Linked DNA regions of Homo sapiens: region 1 is linked to region 2. The links are contacts of gene promoters, found by promoter capture Hi-C in human tissues and cell types (Jung and others, 2019). All regions are on one chromosome and are shown on one strand. Each heading gives the region's core, a stretch centred on a gene start or on the middle of the fragment in contact. The rest is flanking DNA. Distances are from core to core; before and after follow the strand shown. Region 1 overlaps TCEA3 (transcription elongation factor A3). Region 2 holds the start of E2F2 (E2F transcription factor 2).

The links. Contacts are between HindIII fragments. The study calls those that stand out against the background at their distance.
Region 1: a fragment that was not itself captured here is called in contact with the fragment with the promoter of E2F2 in region 2 in 1 of the 25 tissues and cell types used here (bladder).

What each region holds. Positions count from the first base shown.
Region 1 is chr1:23,385,392-23,392,918 of GRCh38, reverse strand. It overlaps TCEA3 (transcription elongation factor A3), which reads left to right. Exons shown (of 11, transcript NM_003196.3): 9 at 5,500-5,646. Among named protein-coding and RNA genes, the nearest start is that of ZNF436, 19 kb to the right of the region's middle. The HindIII fragment of the contact is 6,654 bases long and covers 2,695-7,527 here.
Region 2 is chr1:23,529,123-23,536,635 of GRCh38, reverse strand. E2F2 (E2F transcription factor 2) reads left to right here and starts at 5,403. Exons shown (of 7, transcript NM_004091.4): 1 at 5,403-6,094. The coding sequence starts at 5,843. RefSeq lists silencers at 5,172-5,311, 5,849-5,997. The HindIII fragment of the contact is 9,154 bases long and covers 2,732-7,513 here.

The DNA.
Region 1 (7,527 bases), core at 4,772-7,271, 140 kb after region 2:
AATGTACTTGAATCATCCTGAAACCATCCCCCACCCTGTCCATGGAAAAACTGTCTTCCAGGAAACCAGTCCCTGGCGCCAAAAATGTTGGGGACCACTGGTATATATGATGTGTGGAGTGTGGGGGCTGTGTATGTGTGGAGTGGGTGTGTGTGTGGTGTGTATGATGTGTGAGGTGTGTTTGGTGTATAGTATATGTGTGTGGCATGTATGATATGTGGAGTGTGTGTGTGTGATGTGTGGAGTGTGTGTGGTGTGTATGATGTGTGGAGTGTGTGTGTATGATGTGTGGAGTGTGTGTGTGTGTGTATGATGTGTGGAGTGTGTGTGTATGATGTGTGGAGTGTGTGTGTCTGATGTGTGGAGTGTATGTGGCGTGTATGATGTGTGGAATATGTGTGTATGATGTATGGAGTGTGAGTGTGTGATGTGTGGAGTGTGTGGTGTGTATGATGTGTGGAGTGTGTGTGTATTGTGCATGATGTGTGGAGTGTGTGTGTATTGTGCATGATGATGTGTGGAGTGTGTTTTGTGTATGATGTGTGGAGTGTGTGTGTATGATGTGTGGAGTGTGTGTGTATGATGTCATGTGAAGTATGTGTGTGGTGTGTGATTAGCATATGTGTGGCATGTGTGGTTTGTGTATGTGTGGCATGTGGAAGTGTGTGTCTGTGTTATGTAGTGTGTGTATGTACATTCTTCTGAGGAGAGGGTTCACTGCTTTCCTCAAACACCCAAAACAAACAGCAAAGAGCCTTGGCTTTAGGATGAAATGGGGAACTTGGCACAGGTAGACCAGGGTTATCTTTCTGCCTAATTTAAAATATCTGATCTTTTTGGGTAAATAGCAACATATGCCTGGAGTTATAAATTGCAACTTGGCTTTACAGTGTGTCTTTCGTCAGTTCAGACTGCTATAACGAACATCGCCTGGGTAGTTTATAAACAACAGGCATTTATTCCTCACATTTCTTTTTTTTTGTTTGCTTGTTTTTTTGAGATGGAGTCCACTCTTTTGCCCAGGCTGGAGTGTAGTGGCACAATCTGGGCTCACTGCAGCCTCCACCTCCCAGGTTCAAGCGATTCTACTGCCTCAGCCTCCCGAGTAGCTGGGATTACAGGGGTGTGCCACCATGCCCGGCTAATTTTTGTATTTTTAGTAGAGATGGGATTTCACCATGTTGGCCAGGCTGGTCTCAAACTCCTGACCTCAGATAATCCACCTGCCTCAGCCTCCCAAAGTGCTGGGATTACAGGCGTGAACCATGACACCTGGCCTAGTTCTCACATTTCTAGAGATTGGACAGTCCAACATCAGGGCAGCAGCAGATTCAGTGTCTAGTGAGGGCCTGCTTCCTCATAGACAGCCATCTTCTCACTGTAACCTCACATGGTGGAGGGGTCTTTCTCAGGCCCCTATTAGAGGAGCACTAATCCCCTGCACCAGAGCTCTGCCCTTGAGAGCTAATCACCTCCCAAAGACCCCCTAATAACCATTGCCTTGGGGTTAGGATTTCAACAGGCCACGTGAGGTGGCTCATGCCTGTAATCCCAGCACTTTGGGAGGCCGAGGTGGGCAGAACTCCTGAGCTCAGGAGTTCAAGATGGCAAAACCCTGTCTCTACTAAAAATACAAAAATTAGCCGGGCGTGGTGGCACACACCTGTAGTCCCAGCTACTCGGGAGGCTGAGGCAGGAGAATCGCTTGAACCCAGGAGGCAGAGGTTGCAGTGAGCTGAGATCCTCCATCTCAAAAAAAAAAAAAAAAAAGAAAGAAAGAAAGAAAAAAAGAAAAAAAAACAGAAAAATCTTAGCTTGGGCTTGGGCTGCCTGCTGTGAGGGGAAGCGCCCATCAGGAACCCATGTGGACGGTGTCTCTCTCAGAACTCCCTTCCCTGACTCCCTTTTTATGCCTCTTTCCTTGTTTACCTGACTCCCTCATTCTTTCTTCTTCTCTTTTCTTCCCTACTCAGACATAGCAAAGAATGGAGTAGGCTCTGAGATACCCATGAGCGCTGCTGAGTGGACATAGCATCCTGTCAGTCCCCTGAGAACCGGCATTCACAGTCCACCCAGCACTGACAACAGTGTCTGGTACATCACAGGGCTCAACAAATAGGGATAGAATTGTGGTCTCTGACTCTCATTTCCTTCATTTTCCACCTTATTTTCTACAGTGTTGTATTTATTCTCCGTGTCTCTGATGCTGCCTCATTCTAATGAGGCAGGGCAGAGAAGTCAATGAATTGGCGTGTGGCTGGATAGATTTTTCTGTTCTCTATTTCTTAGCTGGCACACAAGACCTTCCTTCCACAATCTGACCTCCAGCCACATCTCCCATGCTTGACTTGAACCTACCCCAAATACTTTTCCCCAAACATGCTATTCTTGTCCTCTGATCTTTTGTGCCTGCTGTTTTTTGTTTTTTGTTTTTTCTTTTGAGATGGAGTCTGGCTGTCACCCAGGCTGGAGTGCAATGGCATAATCTCAGCTCACTGCAACCTCCACCTCCCAGGTTCAAGAGATTCTCCTGCCTCAGCCTCCCAAGTAGTTAGGACTGCAGGCATGCACCTGTAACCATGTAACCATGCCTGGCTAATTTTTCTATTTTTAGTAGAGACGAAGTTTCGCCATGTTGGCCAGGTTGGTCTCAAACTCCTGACCTCAGGTGATCTGCCCGCCTCGGCTTCCTGAAGTGCTGGGATTACATGTGTGAGCCACTGCGCCCGGCCCTGCTGTTTTATTTGTCTGGAATGTGCCACCACCCACCCCAGGAACTCCTATCTTTCAAGACTGGTTAAAGTACTAGCTTCTTCATGACCCACCAGACCCCAAACAGTTAACCACCATACCCTGTTGCTTTCCCCTGCACCTTATATGCCTTCACTTTAGTACTTCCTTCCCTCTCTTGCAATCTCGTGTAAATGCTTGGCTACCCTATCAGATTAGCACTACTTGGGAGGAGGAACCAGATCTTCCTTTCTGAATCCGTTGGACTCAGAGGCAGTAGCATGCTTGAGCTAGCTCCTACCAGCTCAAGGGAGCTGGTGATGTGTAGCTCTTCCCAACTCTGCGTTCAGTTATATCACATTAGCAGCTTGAAATTGGCCATGGAATTTTGTCCCATTGACCATAGCATTTTGTCCCATGGAAGCTGACAAACACTACAAATCAAGGCATCCCCACAACCAAAGCTGGTTTACCTGCAAACTGATACAGTTAAAGGCATTCAGTAAATTGGCATCCAATAGATTTTGTTTTTGTTTTTTGAGACGGAGTCTCACTCTGTCACCCAGGCTGGAGTGCAGTGACGTGATCTCGGCTCACTGCACCCTCCACCTCCCAGGTTCAAGCGATTCTCCTGCCTCAGCCTCCTAAATAGCTGAGATTACAGGCATGCACCACCAATGCCTGGCTTTTTTTTTTTTTTTGATGGAATCTCGCTGTTGTTGCCCAGGCGGGAGTGCAATGGTGCAGTCTCAGCTCACTGCAACTTAAACCTCCCAGGTTCAAGCAATTGTCCTGCTTCAGCCTTCCAAGTAGCTGGGATTACAGGTGCCCGCCACCACACCCAGCTAATTTTTTGTATTTTTAGTACAGATGGGGTTTCACCATGTTGACCTGGCTGGTCTCCAACTCCTGACCTCAGGTGATCCACCTGTCCCAGCCTCCCAAAGTGCTGAGATTACAGGTGTAAGCCACTGCACCTGGCCACATCCAATAAATTTTGAATGGGCAAATGCTTTATGCTCTGGAAAATCCCCTCAAATTAAAGTCAGCTACTTTTTACTCATATGGGTAAATGGCTTTCATTGACTTGTTTTTCTATATTCTCCTGCCATTGGTTAGGGCCTAGCCTTTGAATTTAACACACTAGGACTTAAACATTAATACGTACCAGAATAACTTGAGGACACTAGTGAAAATGCATATTCTGGCCAGGCGCAGTGGCTCATGCCTGTAATCCCGGCACTTCGGGAGTCCAAAGTAGGCAGATCACTTGAGCTCAGGAGACCAGCCTAGGCAACATGGGAAAACCCCATCTCTACAAAAATATACAAAAAATAATTAACCAGGTTTGGTGGTGCATGCTGGGTGTAGTCCCAGCTACTTGGGAGGCTGAGGTGGGAGAATCGTTTGAGCCTGGGGAGGTTGAGGCTGCCATGAGTCACGATCGCACCACTGCACTCCAGCCTAGGTGACAGCAAGATCCTGTCCCAAAAATAACCAAATAAAGAACTTTAAAAAATGCATATTCCTGGGCCTGCCCTTAGCAATTCAGATTCATAGGAATCTGCATTTTATCAAGAAGCCTAAGTGGTTATAATGAAAGGTGAGCACACTAAAATGCTTTGACCTTTATGCCAGCATTCTTCTCCATGGTTTAAGGACTCAGGACAGACAGCAACAATTAAAATGTTTAAGCCAGGCATAGTGGTTCATACCTGTAATCCCAGCACTTTGGAAGGATGAGGTGGGTGGATCACAAGGTCAGGAGATCGAGACCATCCTGGCCAATATGGTGAAACCCCGTCTCTACTAAAAATACAAAAATTAGCTGGGTGTGGTGGCATGAGCCTGTAGTCCCAGCTACTCGGGAGGCTGAGGCAGGAGAATCGCTTGAACCCAGGAGGTGGAGGTTGCAGTGAGCCGAGATCGCACCACTGCACTTCAGCCTGGTGACAGAGCGAGACTCCATCTCAAAAAAAAAAAAAAAAAGTTTAAAATCCTCATTTTGAGATTCGCGTCAGCCACCCTCCTTCCCCTTCCACCAACCCTTAACTGGAGCTCCCTCTCTGCTGTCCTCTGGCAGAGGCTTAAGGGGAGACAAGTGGCCAGGGAGATGGACAGAGAAAGCAAAGGTGTGGGTGATGCAGACCCGGAGTGTCTACTGTGAGCTGGTGGGAGACTGGAGACTCTTCTGTAGAAACTCTCAGAAAAAGATGATCTTGGATGCATGCTCATCAGATGAACAGTTAGTTGTGTGAGCCCAGGAGCTTCAGGATGGGGGTAGCAGCAGCAAGTCATGGGTAGTTGCGCCAAGGTTCCCACTAAGCAGAACAGCAGGGCAGTGATCACAGCGTAAAAGAGCACTGGGTCAAGTCTAGAGAGGAAGGCTAAGGGGAACATCATAGACCAGGTGGCAGTGATCAAGTCAGCTCAAGCAGGAAGGTTCAGGCCAAGGCCAAGGTCCTGGCAGGCAGGATGAGCCCCAGATCTGAAGAAATGTACACAGGAGTGCTCGTCCTCGGGCAGAGGCTGTTTGCCTGCTGCTCACCTGAATGTGCATTATGACCTTCCAGCCGTGGGCGGCAGGAGGACTCTGCGGGGACAGCTTTCTCCCAGCTGGGGCAGGACCCGGAATCCAGGCCTCCTTCCAGCTCCTTGCAGTCAATAAAGCATGTTACCTCCTTTTCTGTTCAGGCTTTCTAGAAACCGGGTGTAGGGCAGGGCCCCTGAAACTCCTCAGCCCTGAAGGGTAGACTCTTTTTTCTCCAGGAAATGGCCAGTGATGAACTGAGGGAGTTGAGGAATGCCATGACCCAGGAGGCCATCCGTGAGCACCAGATGGCCAAGACTGGCGGCACCACCACTGACCTCTTCCAGTGCAGCAAATGCAAGAAGAAGAACTGCACCTATAACCAGGTAAGGACAGTGAGGGGACGGGCCGGAGGTGCAGGAGGCCGCAGGGGCATAGAGGTGGAAAATCAGAGAGAAGCTTAGGGAAGAGCCAGAGGGGAGAAAGCGTTAAAACTCTCTAGGCTTTGCCGGGTGCGGTGGCTCATGTCTGTAATCACAGCACTTTGGGAGGCCAAGGCGAGTGGATCACCTGAGGCCAGGAGTTTGAGACCAGCCTGGCCAACACAGTGAAACCCCATCTCTACTAAAAATACAAAAATGCCGGGCGCGGTGGCTCACGCCTATAATCCCAGCACTTTGGGAGGCCAAGACGGGCGGATCACGAGGTCAGGAGATTGAGACCATCCTGGCAAACACGGTGAAACCCCGTCTCTGCTAAAAATTCAAAAAATTAGCAGGGTGTGGTGGCGGGCACCTGTAGTCCCAGCTACTCAGGAGGCTGAGGCAGGAGAATGGCGTGAACCCGGGAGGTGGAGCTTGCAGTGAACCGAGATCATGCCACTGCACTCCAGCTTGGGCGACAGAGTGAGACTCCATCTGAAAGAAAAAAAAAATTAGCCAGGCATGGTGGCACGTGCCTGTAATCCCAGCTACCCTGGAGGCTGAGGCAGGAGAATCACTGGAACCTGGGAGGTGGAGGCTGCAGTGAGCCGAGATTGCACCACTGTACTCCAGCCTGGGCGACAGAGGGAGACTCTGTCTCAAACCAAACAAACAACAAAAAGAAAACCTCTCTAGGCTGGGCCAGCTCAGTGGCTCACGCCTGTAATCCCAGCACTTTGGGAGGCCGAGGCAGGCAGATTGCTTGAGCCTAGGAGTTTGAGAGCAGCCTGGGCAACGTGGTGAAACGTCATCTCTGCTAAAAATACAAAAATTAGCCAGGCTTGGTAGTGTGTGCCTGTAGTCCCAGCTACTGGATGCGGGGGAAATGGGTGGCGATGAGGCAGGAGAATCACTGGAGCCCAGGAGGTTGAGGCTACAGTGAATTGAGGCTGCAATGAGCTATGATTGCACCACTGCACTCCAGCCTGGGTGACAGAATGAGACCCTGACTCAACAAAACAAAGAAAACCTTAAAAACTCTCCAGGCTGCAGAGAGAAGGGCAAGCCTTGGTACACTAATGTGGTGCACCTGTGGCTTCTAGACAATGTTCCTCTGAGTTTAGAATCATCCCTGCTATGTGTCTACGAGGCTTGGTCAGTGTGTTCTGGTCTGCCCTGACGTGACAATAAGAAGAATCAGACTCATGGCGGCTGAAGAGTCATAGACAGTTGGAAGGGAACTTGGCAATGTGAAACCCAGCTCCCTCATTACACACCCAGGGAAACTGAGGCCCACACAGGCCACAGATGGGCTTTTTAGCCTTGCCCAAGAAAGGAGGCCAATGTCAGAGGTAGTAATAAACAAGATCCACACCATTCTGCCTGCAATCCAGCTAACTTGGTCAATAAAGCCTAAGGGCTTTAGCTCTGAGTCCTAAAGTTGAAGACCATTGCCCTGGCATGGGGAACTTGGGAAGGCTGTGGAGGCCCCTTCTCTTAAAACCAGAGAATGGCCTCCTCTTTCTGGGTTGCACATGGTATGCCCTTAGAGCACAAATATCCTTGGATTCTAACTGGTGTCTAGTCATTCTAGAACTCTATTCAGAGTTCTCCGTCTGTTCGGCACACACCATTTATCAAGAGCACCTTGCCTGCGGCATTCTGTGGCCAGGGCAGAAATGCAGTCAGCCTTGCCATTCCGGAGGAGTCCCTTGGAGAATTCCAGTTCTGGAATCCGGAGATGTTTGTGCAAGCTTCTGCTCTCTCCCAAGCACCTTTCCGTGTGGAGTGATGCGCTTCCTGTGCCTCACTTCTTTCTAGAAGTAAACTGCCCACTAGCAAAGT
Region 2 (7,513 bases), core at 4,154-6,653:
GTGTTGGGATTACAGGCACGAACCACTGCACCTAGATTTTTTTTTTTTTTTTTTTTTTGAGACAGAGTCACTGTCGCCCAGGCTGGAGTGCAGTGTCGAGATCTCGGCTCACTGCAGGCTCCGCCCCTGGGTTCACGCCATTCTCCTGCCTCAGCCTCCCGAGTAGCTGGGACTACAGGCGCCTGCCATCTCGCCCGGCTAATTTTTTGTATTTTTAGTAGAGACGGGGTTTCACCGTGTTAGCCAGGATGGTCTCAATCTCCTGACCTCATGATCCGCCCGCCTCAGCCTCCCAAAGTGCTGAGATTACAGGCGTGAGCCACCGCGCCCGGCCTGCACCTAGAATTTTATGTATTTAACAAACATTCATATAGTGTTTACTACATGCCAGTCACTGTTAGAAAAGCCCACGAACCCATCTTCCAACAATGTTCCAGTAAAAAGGTTACCACTAGCAGAACTTCCTTAAAGCAATACCTTGTTTCTCTTTTTAAAAAACAACTTTTTTTTCTCCAATCACCAAAGTAATACATGTTTATTGTAGAATAGGAAAAGCACAAAGAAGATGGAGCAGGGATTTTTCTCCCTTGTTTCCCATAGCTCTGATCTGGTTTCTCTGTGATTTGGGATTCGTGTGAACAGGTGATGTGCTGAGGAGCCCGGGACAGGGAATATGTACCTTCAGGAAGTGTCTGTCAAGCAGTTTGTATTCTGATTAACAGGACTTTGAGCACAGGGAATCTGTGGAATTTTTCAGGAGAAGATACACCAGCTGGAATGGAAGTTTGCTTTAGTTTGGGGATTTTTCCAGGACTATCTGGGGTTGCCTGGAACAGGAACTTCCTCACTTACCTGCTCTGTGGCCTCAGGCAAGTCATGGCTTCCTCATCTGGAAAATAGTACTAAGCATCCCCAACTCATCCAGTTGTGGGACACAGTCTTTCCACTTCCAGCAATGTGTGCAGCACTGGAACCCCTGGTTCATTAGCAGAATGTACCCTCCTTCACATGGGGTTTTGGGGCTGAGTTCACTGTTCACAACAGCGCAGTGCCTTGGGAGAGATCTGAGTTCAGATCCTGATTTCATCTTCAAACAGTTGTCAAGTTCCTTTACATATTTCAGCTTCAATTTCTTCATCTGTCCAAAATGTACCTGTGTTACAGGGTAGTTGGGAGGTTTCGACAAAATAATGTATGTAAAATACCTAGCTGGGTGTTTACGCCTAGGAAGTTCTCAGGAAATGTGAACTATTATCATTTATTTCAGGCCTACTTTGTGCCTGGCATCTCAGGGGAGGAAGGCGCAAAAGTGAAAACAAAGCCTGGGTCCTGCCCCCAAGGAGTCTGAAGATTTGTTGATAGGTAGATTAAAGTAAAAGGGTCTTATGCACTGGAGATAGGATCAGAGACGTAAGAAAACTGCCAATTCTTGAGGCTCCTTATAAACCAGGTTCCATGCTGAAAGCTTTATATGCATTATCTATGAGATTTCTTCACAATCCTATGAGGTAAGTGCTATTAGGATTAGAAAATCAAGGATCAAAGATCAGAGAATTTAGGAAATTTTGCCTGGGTCACACAGCTAATAAAGTGTCAGGGCCTGGGTTTGAACCCTGGGATGTCTGACTTCAGATTCTTTGCTCCTTCCACTCCATTTGAGTTGGACCTTGAAGGATGAGTCAGATTTGGGCACATGGGGATGGAGGGGAGGAGGGGCCTGGAGGGGAGGCGGGGCCTGAAGAATAGGAGGATATGGAGCCAGGTAAGCAAAGCCTGGGAGATGGGAAAGTGTAGGGCGTGTACGGCAGAAACTCTGAGGGTTTTGTGTGTGTGTGTGTGTGTGTGTGTGTGTGTGTATGTGTGTGTGTGTGTTTGAGACAGGGTCTCGCTCTGTGACCCAGGCTGGAGTGCAGTGGCACGATCTTGGCTCATTGCAACCTCCACCTCCTGGGTTCAAGCGATTCTCCTGCCTCAGCCTCCCGAGTAGCTGGGATTACAAGCACACACCACCACGCCTGGCTAATTTTTTTTTTTTTTGTATTTTTAGTAGAGACAGGTTTTTGCCATGTTGACCATGCTGATCTCAAGCTCCTGGTCTCAAGTGATCCACCCACCTCGGCCTCCCAAAGTGCTGGGATTACAGGCATGAGCCACCGTGCCCGGCCTGTTTGTTTATTTTGAGACAGTCTTACTGTGTCACCCAGGCTGGAGTGCAGTGACATGATCATGGCTCACTGCAGCCTTGACCTCCCTGGGCTCAGGTGATCCTCCCACCTCAGCCTCCCGAGCAGCTGGGATTACAGGCGTGTGCCACCACGCCCAGCTAATTTTTCTGTATTTTGGAGAGACAGAGTTTTGCCATGTTGCCCAGGCTGGTCTCAAACTCCTGGGCTCAACAGATCTGTCCACCTTGGCCTCCCAAAGTGCTGGGTTCACAGGCATGAACCAATGTGCCCGGCCTGAAACTGCAAGTATTTAGTCTGGTTCCATGTGAGGGCCTCTTCGGGTCCATTTCACATAAACCTTAGCCAAAATATATTAAGTACCTACCATGCACCTGACATTTCTCTAAGGACTTTATAACCAACACCTTACTAAGGCCTCACAGTAAATGGAGAGGTCACTTGTGCCGCCTCCATTTCAAAGATGAGGAAATTGAGACTCAGAATGGTCCAGCAACCTGACCATGATCACAATGCTAGGAATGAATGGGGCAGGAATTCAAGCTCAGGGAGGCAGATTTCAGATCTGTGCCCCACACCTATTGCAAGAATTAGTCAGTTCCCAGGCAGTGAAACTCTAAAGCCAGCCCCAGCTGCCCGAAACTCAACCACAGAGAGCTGGCTCTCAGCCCCTCACTGGCTCCCTTCTTTTCTCCCAGCTCCACCCTGCCACCCCCATTTCCCTCCCTGGCCCTGGGGCCCTGCTGCTTCCCCAAACCTGCTCTGCCACAATTCCTTCCAGGTTCCCTCATCTGTAAAATGGGGATAATAATAGTGTCCGTCTCAGAGCAGTGTTGTGAGGATCAGAGGAGGGGCTCAAGGTGCTTAGAGCCCAGTGTATAGTAGGTTCTCAATAAAAATCAGTGATCATCGCCACCACTGTCATTTAAGTAGTGTCTCTGAAGTAATGTGAAATTGACTGAGTGATAGCATTATCCACATTTGATGGTTGAGGAAATTGTGGTTAAGAGAAGTGAAGCAGCGGCTGTCCAGTGTCACTTAACTAGGAAGTAGAGAGCGGGACTTACTTAATCTGGGCCTCCTGACTTTCTGACTTCAGATCTCATTAACTTCTCCTATTCTTTGCAGCCAGGCAGATGAGTGAATCATAATCAGTATTTATTACCTGCCTTCTGCACTCCAAGCCAGGCCCTAGATGCTAAGGGGCATTCTAGAGAGATCTGACCTAGATTCTTGAAGGAGCATAGAACCTAACTGATAAACAAGGTATGAAAACGAAGCCTTGTTTTGTTGAGGTAGAACACACTAAGGGTCCCAAGAGGGTAAGAGCCATTCTGGCTGAGAGGAAGCAGGCAGGGGAGGCTTCTTGGAGGAGGTGAGATTTAAGCTGGCCCTCAAAGGACCAAAAAGGACCAATGAGATACGTAGACTAGAGTAAAAGGGTCTTATGCACTGGAGATAAGGTCAGAGATGTGACCGGGAGCGGTGACTCACACCTGTAATCCCAGCACTTTGGGAGGCCAAGTAGGGCGGATTGCCTGAGGTCAGGAGTCCGAGACCAGCGTGGCCAACATGGTGAAACCCTGCCTCTACTGAAAATACAAAAATTAGCCAGGCATGGTGGCTGGCGCCTGTAATCCCAGCTACTCGGGAGGCTGAGGCAGGAGACTCACTTGAACCTGAGGCAGGAGAATTGCACCGCTGCACTCCAACCTGGTGACAGAGTGAGACTCTGTCTAAAAAAAAAAAGTCAGAGATATAACAACAGCTGCCAATTCTTGAGGCTCCTTATGATCCAGGTTCTGTGATGAAAGCTTTATATGCATTATCTCATGAGATTTCCTCATGATCATATGAGGTAAGTGCTATTAGGAGGAGAAAATCAAGGATCAAGGATCAGAGAATTTACAAAATTTGCCTTGGTCACACAATGAATAATAAAGTGTCTGGGCCTGGGTTTGAATTCGGGGCTGTTGGCTACAAAGCCTGGGCTCTTAATCATCATGGGTTATTGCCACCTTGGCCTCAACCATCTAATGAGGAATTAAGCTGTGGACTGTCTCTGGAGGGCTTTGAATGCCAAGGCTCAGACTTGCATAAAAATCACACAGCACCAGGCAAGAAATCAGACCTGAAATCTAGCAGCAGCTTCTAGCAACTTTTTACCACTCACTACCCAAGTTTGCTTCTCTGAGCCTCTCTAAACCGGAGTGATGAGGAATGTATTATCAGCAATGAAGGTTTTTGAATGAGGCAGAGAGGCTCTTGTGACAAAAGGATTGTTTAAAAGAAACCTAGAGATGTTCAAACATTTACTGAGTATTGGGTCCTAATAATACAACTGTGAACAAGACAAAGCTCTGCAGTGGGACTCTGACCCTGCTGTGCCCCCAGGCAGCTTGGGAGAGTAGAAGAACCCCTTAACTGGAAAAACAAGGGCTCCAGAGCTGGGACCTGTCCCAGATTCTGTTGCCAGCTCTCAAATCAGGGAATCTCTCTGTATGACCTTGGGCAAGTTACCCAGCCTTTCAGACTGTCAGTCTTTATCATGGGGATCATCATTCCTCTTCCCAGGATTGTTGGAATAAATTAACTAAAACAACGCTTGTAAGGATCTAGCATGGTGCCTGGCATCCTGTAGGCGCTGAATAGATGTTAGTTTTCCCTACAAAGAAGTAGACTAGTTTGCCTCCGTCCCTCACCCCTCTGCCATTAAAGGGAACAGGTTCCTGGCCTTCATTTTAGCAGGAAAGGGGATATGAATGCACATGTGCTAGCTAAGCAACAATGCAAACTAACAAAAGGGCCTGTGGCCTGGGGAATACACTGCTGGGTCTGGGCTCAGGCTGGGACCCCGCGCCAAAATGTTTCCCTTCAATCCCAGGGAATCCGGGCCCATTTCTCGGGGCGCTGTGCACTGCTCTGGCCGCCTCTGCACTGTGAATCCCGGAACCACCCTCTGTCTCCGTCTCGCCGGCTGCTAACTAGCGCGGCCGGCGGCTGGCGGCACCAACAGCAGGTGTGGCTGCCCCTTTAAGCAGCGAAGCTAGTGTTGCAATCGCCGCCTCGAGGACGCGTTCTTTCCGGGGGGGGGGGGGGGGGTGGAGCCTGTACTGTCGCAGCAGCCAACCGGAGCGCGGCATTTTCCGCGGGAGATCCGAATTTCGCGGCACGACGTTTGGCGCTAAAAAAAAAAAAAAAAGAAGAAAAAAAAGAGGCAGAGAAAGACTCAAGGACTAGAGAGCGAGCCGCAAGGAAGTCGGTGCAGTCGAGACCCCCCTCCCCATCCCAGCGCATCGCGTCTCCGCCGAGCTTGAGGGCACGCCGGGGACCCCTCCCCAGAGCCGGCCGGACCCCAGGTGCCGAGGCCTTGGGGAGCGCGGGGCGTCCCGGGTCGCGGTGCCCTCGGGACGAGACAGCCCCTGGCAGTGCCACCACCGCAGCCGCCGGGCGATCTCCAAGCGGCGATCTCTAAGCGCTGCTCTCTGCTCGGCCGCGGGCCAGGAGGGGAGGGTCCGGCCTTGCCCCGCAGGCGTCCATTGGCGGCTTCCCCCGGCCTCCGCGCCATGCCGCGGGCCGTGTGAAAGGCGGCAGCACCGGAACCCGCAGGTGTCCGCGGGCGCGCCAAGCCCTTTTGGGTAGGGGGCGCCTTACTCGCTATGCTGCAAGGGCCCCGGGCCTTGGCTTCGGCCGCTGGGCAGACCCCGAAGGTGGTGCCCGCGATGAGCCCCACAGAGCTGTGGCCATCCGGCCTCAGCAGCCCCCAGCTCTGCCCAGCTACTGCTACCTACTACACACCGCTGTACCCGCAGACGGCGCCTCCCGCAGCGGCGCCAGGCACCTGCCTCGACGCCACTCCCCACGGACCCGAGGGCCAAGTTGTGCGATGCCTGCCGGCAGGCCGGCTGCCGGTAATGCTGGGGGCCCCCACCGCTTCCCCCTATGCTTTTCCAGGTGTGGGAAAGGAGGGAGGGGTGCCTGAGATCCAGTTTGAGTGGAGCAGGTAGAGTTTTGGGAAGAGGGAAGATGAGCTTTCAGTTTCCAGGACCCAGTGCCCCCAATATCTGAGTAGAAGACCCCTTCATTTTCAGACTTTGGATGAAATAATCTCATCCATTCTAGTGGAGTGGAATGAGCACTGGATTGCGAGTCTGGAGGGAGACCCAACTCACTACTCCCAGTGCACTGTGTGACCTTGGGGAAGTCCATGCAGCCAGCGTTGCCGCCATTCATTCATTACTTCATTGTTTGGCCAGAAACCAGTACTGGGTGCCTGCTATTGTCCAGGCAAAGAGTATGGCCTGGGGACACTGTGGGACTTTGGTAAGACAGAGGGATAGGTCTAGTGGGTCTCTCACATCCAATCTGCCATGGACAGACTCCAAATTGTCCAGCCAGCTCCTGAGATAGCCCCAAGTATCTGCCCTAGGTCCTCCCCCAGGCCCAGTCTTCCCTCCCAGACAGCCATGTAGCAGATACAAATGTGGGCAGCCCCCTTGGGTTCTGTTCAGATTGGCTGCTCTCTCCTCAAGCTCCCAGGCTCGTTGCCAGAGAGGGCCCAAAGTGTAGTGGCACCAGGCTGCCTGCTGACCTGGGCTCAGGGTGTGTTTTGTGGGAGTGGAATTCCTGGAGCCCGTGTGAATCAAAACAACTTTAGGGTGGGGGGTGGAGTGGGAAAAGCCTGGGGGAGTGGAGGTGGTGGTGGTTGAGGAGCCTGGTTTCTGGTGTGACTCTGCCACTAATTCTCTGTGTGTCCTTGGACAAGTCTTGGACCCAGTCTGGGCTTCAGTGTTCTCTCCTTCACAATGCGTGTGTGCACAGGGTGGCTGTGGGGCTAGCTCTTCTCAGCCACATTCAGCTCCAGGTCCTGGGTTTTGGAAGCAGGCTCCAGGGAGAGGAAGGGGGTGTTGTAGGTTTGCTTAGTTGTGAGTTTGGTGAATAAGTTCGGGTACAGGGATAAGACCACCCCCCACTGCCCCAGAGGCATCTGGTCAGACCTGTGCTAGTCAGCAAGCACGGATGCCCAGCCAGCTCTGGATGCAGGCAGAGCCACCACTCCCTGCCAGTGGACTCAGGCTTTGCCCATGTTCAAAACGTTAACCTTCCTGGAGACCCTTCCTGCACATGATTTCTAACTAGGAGGGCAGTGGGCAGGAATGGTATTATCCCCATTTTACAGGTTAAGCAACCGAGGATAACTGGGATTGGGTATCTTGTGTTCAGTGTTTTATAGCCTAAAACATCTTTGTAGTTCGTGAAATAGATGGCATTAATAGCTCCATGTTACAGGGGGAAACTGAGGCTCAGAGAGGGGATGTGACCTAAGGTCA